Regions from separate parts of the Homo sapiens genome. Here regions 1, 3 and 4 are each linked to region 2. Evidence: promoter capture Hi-C in 16 types of primary human blood cells and fetal thymus (Javierre and others, 2016). All regions are on one chromosome and are shown on one strand. The core of a region is centred on a gene start or on the middle of the fragment in contact, and the rest is flanking DNA. Distances in the headings are between cores, read along the strand shown. Region 1 overlaps GEMIN5 (gem nuclear organelle associated protein 5). Region 2 holds the start of HAVCR1 (hepatitis A virus cellular receptor 1). Region 3 has its middle 33 kb from the start of MRPL22. Region 4 overlaps MRPL22 (mitochondrial ribosomal protein L22).

The links. The method cuts DNA at HindIII sites, captures the fragments that hold promoters and counts their contacts. A CHiCAGO score of 5 or more calls a contact.
Region 1: a fragment that was not itself captured here is called in contact with the fragment with the promoter of HAVCR1 in region 2 in 1 of 17 cell types (M0 macrophages); the score reaches 5.8 in M0 macrophages.
Region 3: a fragment that was not itself captured here is called in contact with the fragment with the promoter of HAVCR1 in region 2 in 1 of 17 cell types (M0 macrophages); the score reaches 5.8 in M0 macrophages.
Region 4: a fragment that was not itself captured here is called in contact with the fragment with the promoter of HAVCR1 in region 2 in 1 of 17 cell types (M2 macrophages); the score reaches 6.7 in M2 macrophages.

Annotation. Positions count from the first base shown.
Region 1 is chr5:154,905,306-154,908,315 of GRCh38, reverse strand. GEMIN5 (gem nuclear organelle associated protein 5) reads left to right here. Exons shown (of 28, transcript NM_015465.5): 16 at 498-725; 17 at 2,840-2,953. Among named protein-coding and RNA genes, the nearest start is that of GEMIN5, 31 kb to the left of the region's middle. The HindIII fragment of the contact is 1,131 bases long and covers 865-1,995 here.
Region 2 is chr5:157,057,651-157,060,851 of GRCh38, reverse strand. HAVCR1 (hepatitis A virus cellular receptor 1) reads left to right here and starts at 1,736. Exons shown (of 9, transcript NM_001173393.3): 1 at 1,736-1,931; 2 at 2,897-2,954. The coding sequence starts at 2,909. The HindIII fragment of the contact is 9,361 bases long and covers 1,621-3,201 here.
Region 3 is chr5:154,972,924-154,976,004 of GRCh38, reverse strand. No RefSeq gene overlaps it. Among named protein-coding and RNA genes, the nearest start is that of MRPL22, 33 kb to the right of the region's middle. The HindIII fragment of the contact is 510 bases long and covers 1,154-1,663 here.
Region 4 is chr5:154,943,907-154,946,931 of GRCh38, reverse strand. All of the region lies in intron 2 of MRPL22 (mitochondrial ribosomal protein L22), which reads right to left. Among named protein-coding and RNA genes, the nearest start is that of MRPL22, 4.3 kb to the right of the region's middle. The HindIII fragment of the contact is 1,617 bases long and covers 889-2,505 here.

The DNA of each region.
Region 1 (3,010 bases), core at 181-2,680, 2.2 Mb after region 2:
CCAGCTACTCAGGAGGCTGAAGCAGGAGAATCGCTTGAACCTGGGAGGCAGAAGTTGCGGTGAGCTGAGATCTCGCCATTGCACTCCCGCCGGGGCAAGAAGAGCGAAACCATCTCCAAAAAAAAAAAAAAAAAAAAAAAAAAGGACATCTGGGTAAAATTGGCAGAACTTAAATAGAGAGTATGGAGTAGGTGGCAGTAGTGAATCGTGTTAATTTCCTGATTTCCATGGTTGTACTATGGTGACGTCGGAGCATGTCCTGTTCATAAGACACACACTAAAATATTTGGGTGTTATTGGGCATCATGTTTATGATTTAATGAAATTTCAAAAGGGTTTGGTTAATATTGTGATAATATAATTCTAAAAGTTCATTGAGAAGAAAGGGAATGGGTAAAAATGCTATTAAAGAGGAATGAGATATTGGAGTTTACCACCTAGAGTGCTTTTAACCAAGAATGTATACTTTAGTCAGTCCTTTATTGTGATTCTTGTAGGCAAAAAAAGTATTGAATTGGAGAAAAAACGGCTCTCTCAACCTAAGGCAAAGCCCAAAAAGAAGAAAAAGCCCACCTTGAGAACTCCTGTAAAGCTGGAATCGATTGATGGAAATGAAGAAGAAAGCATGAAGGAGAACTCAGGACCTGTTGAGAATGGTGTGTCAGACCAAGAAGGGGAGGAGCAAGCACGGGAGCCGGAATTACCCTGTGGCCTTGCTCCAGCGGGTATGTGGCAGAATCCTGTGTATCACTAGGATTTCATGGTCGTGTCTGGGAAACTAAGCTAGGTCCTTACTCAGTTTGAAACTTCGCTGTTCCCATTTTTCCAACTCTTGGAAACAGCATTAGTTTTTTTTGTTAAGCTTTATTCAAGTCTCTAAAATAAACATCTTTGAAGTTTTAAAGGGGTTCTAGTGGATGTTTGTGGTGGAAATAGTAAAGTTCTACAGAGAAAACTTCTTATTCAACTTGGGCAAGGTAAAACCGTGGGACGAAGCGAAGCTGGGTCAGTTGTGTACATAGGAACTTACATGGGAAAAGTTTTAACAGTATGACATCAGTAGCCACATTTGGTGAAAGAAACTACTGTCCCTTACAAATGTCTGACCTAGAAGCTACCACCACTGTGGGAACTTGCAAGCTCTCACCCCCTTACGTGGAGTTTGTACGCGGCTTTCTGTCTTCTCACAGAAAAAAAATGTGTGAATGGTTATTAGGTTTTTCTAGTGAGTTAAGCTGTAGTGATGGCTCTCAGATGTCTCACAAAACAGTGTTCTATCACTAACAAAAAAACTGTTAGGTAAAAATTTTAGCACTCTTTTTATTTTGTACATTTACTCGGGACCTGTTGAGAATGGTTTGTCAGACCAAGTGATAAATATCTGGTCCCTGGTAAAATAAACGATTAAATAGCAAACAGTGTAAGTAGAAGCAGTAACTCATACTTAATTCTAAAACAGAATCCATTGATGTGACAGTATTGAAATGGCTAGAATATAGGATACAAGGCATTCCTGATGCTCTCCATCCCAAGGGATAGCTGTTAGACACATAGTTGGGGTAAATAAAGAGCAAAAAGCCTAATGGATTTATTATTTTGGCTCATCAGAATGCTTTTCTAGTCGGGTACAGAGACACATACCTCTAGTCCCAGATCCTCAGGAGGCTGAGGCAGGAGAACCGCTTGAGGCCAGCCTGGGCAACACAGCAAGACCCCCCATCTCTTTATTTTTCTTTTTTTTAAAAAGTCTTTCTTTCACAAAATGGCTATACAAAACATGGATCAACAAGTTGTTTTTAAAAAGTTCCTGTGCTCAGGATTGTGACACCATATTGCATACACCTAGTATTCTCTATTATTAAAGTTACTCCTGTTAGTGTAATTAAATATGCAATTAGTACTTTATGACCTAGAAATGTAAAAAGTGCTTTGTCACCTGAGCAAAGTATAGGAACTCCTTGGCTTATGGTATAAAGTTGTGGAGGGCTGGAAGCTTTTTCCTTAGTCAAAGTTCAAAGTAAGGCGGGCATGGTGGTTCATGCCTGTAATCCCAGCACTATGGGAGGCCAAGGAAAGAGACTTGCTTCAACCCAGGAGCTTGAGACTAGCCTAAGCAACATAGGGAACCCCCATCTTTGCAAAAAATATAAAAATTACCAAGATAATGGCTTGTGCCTATAGTCCTAGCCACTCTGGGAGGCTGAGGAGGGGAGGATCACCTGAGCCCAGGAGGTTAAGGCCTCAGTGACTGTGATTGCACCCACTGCACTCCAGCCTGGGCAACAGTTATATCTTATCTCTAACCAAAAGAAAAAAAAAAAAGTAAGCCAGGAGCGGTGGCTCACGCCTGTAATCCCAGCAGTTTGGGAGGCTGAGGCAGGTGGATCACCTGAGGTCAGGAGTTTGAGATCACCCTGGCCAACATGGCGAAACCCTGTCTCTACTAAAAATACAAAAATTAGCCAGGCATGGTGGCTTGTGCCAGCTACTGGCGAGGCTCAGGCAGGAGAATTGCTTGGACCTAGGAGGCAGAGGTTGCAGTAAGCCAAGATTGCGCCACTGAATTTCCAGCCTGGGCGACAGAGTGAGACTTCGTCTCAAAAAAAAAAAAAAAACCAAAGTAATAGACTTACAGATTCCTGAAAACAGCTAGTTTGGGAGGTGGGAAAGGGGAAACTACTCCTACTTCTTTTCCAGTGCATTTTATCTCAAAAGTTTTGGTAATAGATGAATTGATTATATTGCTAAGCTTGGAATGGCTCTTAATTTTTACAAAGAACTGAAATTCTGTATTATTGTTATCCTTAACTTTTTTTTTCCTTTTTCCCCCATGATGTAGTTTCTAGAGAACCAGTTATCTGCACTCCAGTTTCCTCAGGCTTTGAAAAGTCAAAAGTCACCATTAATAACAAAGTCATTTTACTGAAAAAGGAGCCACCAAAAGAGAAGCCAGGTTGGTATCTAGTAATTAAAATACAGTATTTTGTTAAAGCAGCCTAAAATATTACAT
Region 2 (3,201 bases), core at 487-2,986:
ATGTGGCTAGTGGCTGCTGTAGTGCACGACACTCACACAGAATAACTCTGTAACCAATATTCTACTGGAGACAGAATCGATCCTATGGAATTCAAATTCAAATCCTATGGAATTGTACAGTTATGTAACATCTCAGAGCACTGGCTCCACATCCCTGTCTTGGCTCTCTGTGGCTCATCAGTTCCAGAATAACTCCGTTACCAGAATAACTCCATTACTAAAATTCTACCGGGCAGCACTCTATAGGAGGGAATAGAGACAGACACCACATATATTGCACACACAGATAAAATGGATTAAGGAAAACAAGATAATAATAGTGAGAGGGACTGGTTGGCTACTTTAGATTGAAGGACCTGTGAAAAATGTCCAGGGAGGTCATATTTAAGCCGGGATAAAAATGAAAAGGAAAAAAGTGAAAATGGTGGGGCTGGGGAGCTAGATGGAGAACACAGCCACGGAAAAGGCCTTAGGGTTGAGGCAAGTTGGAAAGAAAGCTCTAGTAGCTGGGGCTGAGTCAGCAGGGGAGAGAGTGGTAGAAGAAATCTATGGGGTAGGTCAGGGCCAGACCACCAGGGCTTCAGTAATTTGAGTAAAGATTTAGGAATTATTATTATTATTATTATTATTATTTTTCTGAGAGAGTTATGAGAGGGTTATAAGTGGGGGAATGATGTAGTCTGATTATATATTTACCTTTACCTCACTTATCCTGATTTCATTAGTTGCTTACTTACCCATGTCCCTGCCCGATTGCACAAGTCTGGATTTTTGACGTCCCTAGTATATTGAGTCATGTCCCATCAGCTCAATATGTTAGTAATAACTGGTTGAATTGAATTAGCTTTTTTTTTTCAATCTTTTTTTCCTTAAGAAACAGGGTCTTGCTCTGTCACCCCGGCTGGTGTGCAGTGGCACAATCATAGCCTCCAACTGCTGGGCTCAAGCAACCCTCCTGCCTCAGCCTCCTGAGTAGCTGGGACTACGGTCAGGTACACAAGGCCTGACTATATTTTTTGTTCGTTTTTTTTGCAGAGAGGGAGTCTTGCTATGTTGCCCAGGTTGGTCTCAAACTCCTTACCTCAGGTGATCCACTTGCCTTGGCCTCCCAAAGTGTTGGGATTACAGGCGTGAGCCACTGTGCCTGGCAAGAAATGAATTTTTATTTTTATTTTTGAGATGGAGTTTTGTTCTTGTTGTCCAGGCTAGAGTGCAATGGCTTGATCTCGGCTCACTGCAACCTCCACCTTCCAGGTTCAAGCAATTCTTCTACCTCAGCCTCCTAAGTAGCTGGGATTACAGGCGCCCGCCACCACCCCCAGCTAATTTTTGTATTTTTAGTAGAGTCGGGGTTTCACCGTGTTAGCCAGGCTGGTCTTGAACTCCCGACCTCAGGTGACTGGCCTACTCGGCCTCCCAAAGTGCTGGGGTTACAGGCACGAGCCACCATGCCCGGTCAAGAAATGAATTTTTAAACGCTGCCATACAAAACACTATGCTGAGATCATCCACTTCCCCATGAACCCTGTCATGAGCTGCAAGATACAGACCACCACTGCCTCCTTGGAAGTTACTGAATTCTTAGACCAGAAGAGGAGTTAATGAAGTACTAGGCAAGCTTACTCATGTTTGTATGGTTTAATGATTAACAGCAGAAGTCAACAGCCCGATTTAACGCATGTGGGTGCTTGACACAGAGCCTGCTATATAGTATTCTCCAAAAACCTCAGCTAGTGCTATTACTGCATATGATGTAGGTTTAGTTTTCCAAGTTCTTCCGTGGCCCTTTTTGCTTATTATATCAATCCTTGGTGGGAGATAGAGGAAGCATTTTTAGTGCTATTTTACAACTGAGGAAATAGAGGTTTGAAGAGAACTCAGGAACTCTCAGGGTTACCCAGCATTGTGAGTGACAGAGCCTGGATCTGAACGTAAGTCTGCTCCAGACTTCTGTTTCCTGAAGCATTCTCTTGAAGTCCCTTGGTAAGGAGGTGTAGTCTGAAGCATGTTGTACAGGAGCATGAAAGGTTAGGCACAGTGATTCACATTCACTCTCAATTTCTCTTGCTAATGGCAAACTTGGCAATATGACTGTTAAGGCTAGGGATAAGTCGTTGTGGCCACTGAGTAGGAAAAGCTCCACGTCCACCAGAGGCCCAGTTTACTCTGAAAAGCAAGTGCATCTCTGCCACTGGAAGGCTGGCATTTGCTCTCGTGCTGCCATTGAGCCACGCTGGTTCTCTGCTTCCAGTTTCCTTTTCTTTTCTTTTTTTTTGTTTTGTTTTTTGAGACGGAGTCTTGCTCTGTCGCCCAGGCTGGAGTGCAGTGGCGCGATCTCGGCTCACCGCAAGCTCCGCCTCCCGCGGGTTCACGCCATTCTCCTGCCTCAGCCTCCCGAGTAGCTGGGACTACAGGCGCCAGTGACCACGCCCGGCTAATTTTTTGTATTTTTAGTAGAGACGGGGTTTCACCCTTTTAGCCAGGATGGTCTCGATCTCCTGACTTCGTGATCTGCCCGCCTTGGCCTCCCAAAGTGCTAGGATTACAGGTTTGAGCCACCGCGCCCGGCCCTGTTTCCTTTTTGTTTGTTCCCCTGATACCCTGTATCAGGACCAGGAGTCAGTTTGGCGGTTATGTGTGGGGAAGAAGCTGGGAAGTCAGGGGCTGTTTCTGTGGACAGCTTTCCCTGTCCTTTGGAAGGCACAGAGCTCTCAGCTGCAGGGAACTAACAGAGCTCTGAAGCCGTTATATGTGGTCTTCTCTCATTTCCAGCAGAGCAGGCTCATATGAATCAACCAACTGGGTGAAAAGATAAGTTGCAATCTGAGATTTAAGACTTGATCAGATACCATCTGGTGGAGGGTACCAACCAGCCTGTCTGCTCATTTTCCTTCAGGCTGATCCCATAATGCATCCTCAAGTGGTCATCTTAAGCCTCATCCTACATCTGGCAGGTAAGTGAGTAGGTGCCCTGGGCGGGAAGAAGGGAGTAGAGGGGGGTTAGAAGCCAGAGAATGGGGTAGGGGAAGGGGAGGGGATGGTGGTGGTGGATTAATGTAGATGTTCTTTGGGTACCGTTGTATGGCTATGAGTTAACTAGTGAGCAGGACCAGAATAAAGTTTTAGGCCAAAGAAATTGCTTAACTGCTGTGAATTACAACATTCATGGCTAAATGAACAAGGCAAGATGCAGCACAGTGT
Region 3 (3,081 bases), core at 159-2,658, 2.1 Mb after region 2:
CGAACCCACCAGGAGGAGCGAGCAACTCCCGTTGCGCCACCTTTAAGAGCTGTAACACTCACTGCAAAGGTCTGCTGCTTCACTCCTGAAGTCAGCAAGACCAAGGAAGAAACTCTGGACACATCTGAACATCTGAAGGAACAAACTCCGGACACACCATCTTTAAGAACGGTAACACTCACTGCTAGGGTCCACGGCTTCATTCTTGAAGTCAGCGAGACCAAGAACCCACCGGAAGGAACCAATTCCGGACACAATAGTAGGCATTTGGTAATATTAGCAAGACTGTAAATGCCCAGAGACATGAAATAAGAGGCCATAGGTATTTATAGGTCATTTGGTATGGTTGAAGTATGTGGTAATGAGCATTGATGCTATAATGAAAAGCAGGTATTTGTAAGACAAGAAGTTTAAACTTTATCCTGACACCTGTGGAAAGCCACTGGAGGGTTTTAACAGTGCAGAAAAATACTAGAAAAGAGGGCAGAGAGGGGAGTAAAAATCAAGCTAAGGTTTTAGGGATGTAGAGGTCTGTACTTTTCACTTAGTCATGGGCTTGCAAATCCTCTCCATTAACACAGACAATCAACACTGTTGGCTTATGAGAAAACAAGTCATTAAGAGAAAAGCCACATTTAACACTCTCACTTTGCACCATCTTATCAGAGCAGGGAACTTCGACATAAAGAAATAACTAGGCCGAGAGCAGTGGCTCATGCCTGTAATCCCAGCACTTTGGGAGGCTGAGGCGGGTGGATCACCTCAGGTCAGGAGTTTGAGACCAGCCTGGCCAAAAATTAGATGGGTGTGGTGGTGCGCTCCTGTAGTCCCAGCTACTTGGGAGGCTGAGGCAGGAGAATCACTTGAACCCGGGAGACGGAGGTTGCAGTGAGCCGAGATCACGCCACTGCACTCCAGCCTGAGTAACAGAGCGAGACGAGAGAGAGAGAGAGAGAAAAGAAGGGAAAGAAAAGAAACTAGCCACATAGCAAAGTAATAAAGTCAGGTGAGGCTTAAGCATAAACTCCAAGAGACTTCTCGTTCTTTCTCTCCCACTTGAAATCACTGGGTGGAGGGTATAAGGGCTTCTCTTGCTTCTGTGACTTTACCAAGACTTCCTATTGTGTTCTCTACACCCTGCCTGTGCCAAGCTTTCTTCAGACTCTTAATATCTGTGATGAGCAGGGATGGGTCAGAAGACAGTTCTGCTCAGGTCACAACCTGCACATCCAAGGATGGCCTGTGCCACAATTTCATCATATTTCAACATTCTAATGTGGTCACATTTTCACCAGCATCCACTTAATGCCACTTAATCAGGTGCTTTCCCCTGGTTTTTCTCTCCACCTATAAAACTTAAGGTTTTATGTGAAAACTCAAGGTAATGATAGCTGCTAAAAACACATATTTCTCCTGAGTTAGCTGCATTCTTCCATTCCTGCTTCTGCTCACAGTACTCAAAGTGATATTTATTTTTAATTTTACTATTTTTTCTAATTACCTAGGTAATATATATTTCACTTAGAAAACATCAAAAATATAGAAAAACACACAAAGTAAAATTAAAGGTTGCCTGTAATCTTATCATTCAGATATATCTCTTAATACTCCTAAGATGTTCATCTTTTTCTTTATGGCTTCTGCCTTTGCTTTATAAAAAGCTTTCTCCATCCCAAGTCAGATAAATTTCACCCGTATGTGTTCATTTTTTATTAAACATCTCATATCTGCAACTTAAGTTCTTTTAAACTGGCCTTGATTTTAAAAGTTCAGAGTCTATTAACTTATGCTAAATCATGTGGCTGCTTTAGATGCCAGAGCATTGGATAGGGAATGGAAAATTGAACTGGGAAATGGGAGTAATTGATCTTCACCAATGGACCCAGCCTCTCTGTGGCTAAATTCCCCTGTGTGTAAAAATGCAGGAAATTACATTTGGACCCCAAATTTACTTTTTCCCTACTTTAAAATACATCATATACACAGAAGGCAGCACAGTGTCATGAACAATAATAAAACAAATGCCCACTAATCCACACATGGATTTTGACAGCATGTAACAATTTCCCTGATTTCTAATCCACTTAAAAAGTGGTGGCCCCTCTTTTTGTGCTCTGACAGTTAAGACAGTTTGCATAGCTCATCTCTCCTTGGAGGAACTTGTCTCTCTTTTGAATTAGCTTACTTGGTTGCCTCAGAAGCTATTCTTTCTTACGGGCTCAACAAAAGTAATGATTTTGTCATTTACCTGTCATTTTCATTGTTAGGGTGAGAGTGATGAGCTTTGCAGCTATATCCTAAGCAGAAGTGTAAGTATATTTCAATTCCACCTTTATCCTATATCAAATCTATATACTTGAGCCTGTCTGGGAGGCTACATAAGAATCATGCTGCTTTAATAATAAACCTTTCTTCCTAGCAATGTAAGTCACCCCTCAATCTTCCAAAATTTCTTCATCCCTTTATTAAGCTTCCCAGGTGACTTTAGAATTATATTCTCTAGTTAAAAAAATGCTTTTGACATTTTTATTAGAATTGAAGTGGTTGAATTCTTGAGTTATGCCATTCAAGAATGGGTATGCCCTATCATTTATTCCAGTCTTCTTTCAAATCCCTCAATAAAGTTTTACAGTTCTATTTCTATGGGTCCTGCCTACTTATGTAAGTTTGTTCCTAGATATTTTATATTTTAGTTTCTATTTTTAATACTTTTTAAAAATTATCTTTTCTTTTGAGTTGTTGATTTTGAAAGATAAGCTTTAGCTGGGCACAGTGGCATGTGCCTGTAGTCCTAGCTACTTGGGAAGCTGAGGTGAAGGGTTTGAGCCCCAGAGCTTGAGCCTGGGCAACAGAAACAGTGAGACCCCTGTCTCTTAAATAAGTGTGTGTGTGTGTGTGTGTGTGTGTGTGTGTGTGTGTGTGTGTGTGTGTGTATGGCATATTGATTTTGTAACCAACTGCCTTATTGAACTCTACTTACTTCAAATATTTTTTCTGTTTACTTTATTAGATTGCTAGATAGGCAATTATATGTAAATAATAATTTGCCTCCTCCTTTCCAAAGATTTTTCTCTTATTTCA
Region 4 (3,025 bases), core at 448-2,947, 2.1 Mb after region 2:
AATACCAGCACTTTGGGAGGCCACGATAGGAGGACTGTTTGAGGCCAGGAGTTCAAGACCAGCCTGGGCAACATAGCAAGGCCTTGCCTCTGTTTTGTTTATTTTATTTTGAGACAGAGTTTCACTCTTGTCACCCAGGCTGGAATGCAATGGTGCGATCTCAGCTCACTGCAACCTCCGCCTCCTGGATTCAAACGATTCTCCTGCCTCAGCCTCCCAAGTAGCTGGGATTACAGGGACGCACCACCGCACCCCACACCTGGCTAATTTTTGTATTTTTAGTAGAGACGGGGTTTCACCATGTTGGCCAGGCTGGTCTTGAACTCCTGACCTCAGGTGATCCACCCATCTCAGCCTCCCAAAGTGCTAGGATTACAGGTGTGAGCCACCACACCCGTGTTTCTTTTTTTAAGGGCATAAAAAATAAAACAAAGTTAGGCCCTTTGAACAGTTAATCTCTCCTGTCCCCAGCCCCCAAATAAGTCCTGTGAACTGTAAGCTTTAAATACACAATTTCAAAGTTTTTTCTCAAGTTTATAATCATAAACGTTTATGGTTCTATGTAGTTGTAATTAGCGAGTAGGGTACACTATGTTTGTCACCTCTTTGGACCTTGGTTTCTTTGTCTGTGAAAAGAGGAATTAGACTACATCATCTATAAGGCCTCTCCTAACCTTAATTCTATCTCTAATCTCATCACCAACAGCATGACAGAAACATGAACCCCTTTGCTACAAACCAATCTGAAAGATTTCTTGAGTCAGGCCCATACCTGCTGTACCCGCCTAGCACAGTACCTTGCGCTCTTCAAATCTTCAATACATATTTGGTGAATTAAATATGTTGCTTCATAAATTAAACATACTATGAATTAATAATGTCAAAGCTTTCTGAATTCTTATAATACTTTCAGGACTCAAATAATTCATGAACTGAATTATCAAGCAAAGACCAAACTACTATAATCAAATTAAATTAAAGTATTATTCCAAATGGGGTTCTTAATTTAGAAGCACAGAATATCAAATCAAAAGTTCCTATGTGCCCTCTCCTGGCCAATTGCTGGAATAACACTCAATTAAAACAAAATGAAGCAACCTTAAAACAGAAAATACAGACAAATTCTAATTCTAATTATCAGTCCTCATCTGAGAGTGACCTAAGTATCTCTGGTCACTCACTCTTCCTTGAGACACTTTCTTTAATTGGGTTCCAGGACACTTGGGGTTTTCTTCTCCCCTCTCTGGCCACTCCCCCACAGTCTCCTTTGTTGTTTCCTTGTCTCCCTCCCTGGTCTGTAATATTGGCTGCCTTAGGCAGGAATCAATCCTCGGACTCTTTCTATCTACACTCACTCCCTTGGTGAAGTCAACCAGCTTTGCAGCTTTAAACATTATCCATGCATTGATGACTCCCAAATGTACATCCGTTCCCTGAACTCTATAAACTCATATACCCAATTGCCTACTCGTATCTCTACTTGGATGCTTACAACAGCTCAGATTTAACAAACCCAAAAGTGACCTACTAATATTCTCCCCAAACCTGCTCCTCTGGAAGTCTTCCTAGCTCAGTAAGTGGTTAACTCTACCCTTCCAGTTGCTCAGGTCATAAACTTTGGTGTCACCCTTCTTTCTCACACCTCCCATCCAATGCATCAACAAGATCTGTCAGGTGTGGTTAACATACTGCCAGAATCCAACCATTCACTTACCTTCACGGCCACCCTAATCCAAGCCACCATGATCTCATACCTGAAATAGCCAACGGTCTCTGCTTCCATCCTTGCTCCCCATCCCCACCCCAGTCTATTCTCAACACAGCAGCCAGAAAGAACCACTCATAAACATAAGTCAGATCATATAACTCCATGCTCAAAACCTTACAACAGTTTCCCATCTTGCTCAGAATAAAAGCCAAAGTATTTACAAAAAATAATAAGGCTCTATATGATTTATGACTGCCCCTTCCTCTCTGACCTCATCTCCTATCACTATCCCTCTCCTTTTTGTCATTGTTCCTGACACCAGATATGGTTCCTTGGAGCTGTTGCACTTACTATTCTATCTGCACAGAATGCTGTTTGTTCAGATGTTAGCACAGCATGCTTCCTCATTTCCTTCAAATCTTTACTCAAAGATTATCTTTTAGTGAGGCCTTCCCTATCTAAAACTACAAGTTCCTCTCTCAAACACACATACTTCTTATTCTCAATCTCTGCTTTATTTTCTCATAAGCAGATGTCACTATCTAATATACTCTATATTTTACTTATTTTGCTTATTTGCCCCCCTTACTATATTGTACACCCCACAATGGCAAGGGATTATTGTCTGTTCCTGTTCCCTGCAAAATCCTCAGTGCTAGAATAGTTCCCAGCTCAGAGCAGGCACTAAATACATATTTGTAGAATCAATGAAAGAATACAGAGACAGGTAAGGTAAGAGGACTGAGTGTAAATAACTATGCCAAAATTTTACACATGGTTGGAAACTGAGGAAAGCTTAAGAGGATATGCCCCCATCTAAAGGGTGGTACAGACAGGCTTGGTGGCTCACGTCTGTAATCCCAGAGACTCGGGAGCCTGAGGTGGGAAGATCACTTGAGCCCAAGAGTGCGAGACCAGCCTGTACAACATAGTGAGACTCTGTCTCCTAAAAAAAAATATTTTTTTGGCTGGGCGTGGTGGCTCATGCCTGTAATCCCAGCACTTTGGGAGGCCAAAGCGGGCGGATCGTTTGAGCCTAGGAGTTTGAGACCAGCTTGGCCAACATGGTGAAACCCCATCTCTACTAAAAATACAAAACTTAGCCAGGTATGGCGGCCTGCACCTGTAGTCCCAGAAAATATTTTGTTTAGATCCTCACTTTGACATTTAACTGTGTAACCTTCAGTAAGTCACAAAACTTCTCAAATGTATGCATCAGTAAAATAGGAGACTTGGAATTCAAAAACTGAAAACTGTCAGTCAGCTAACAAATATAGCCTACAGAGTAATCCCAGCACTTTGGGAGACTGAGGTGGG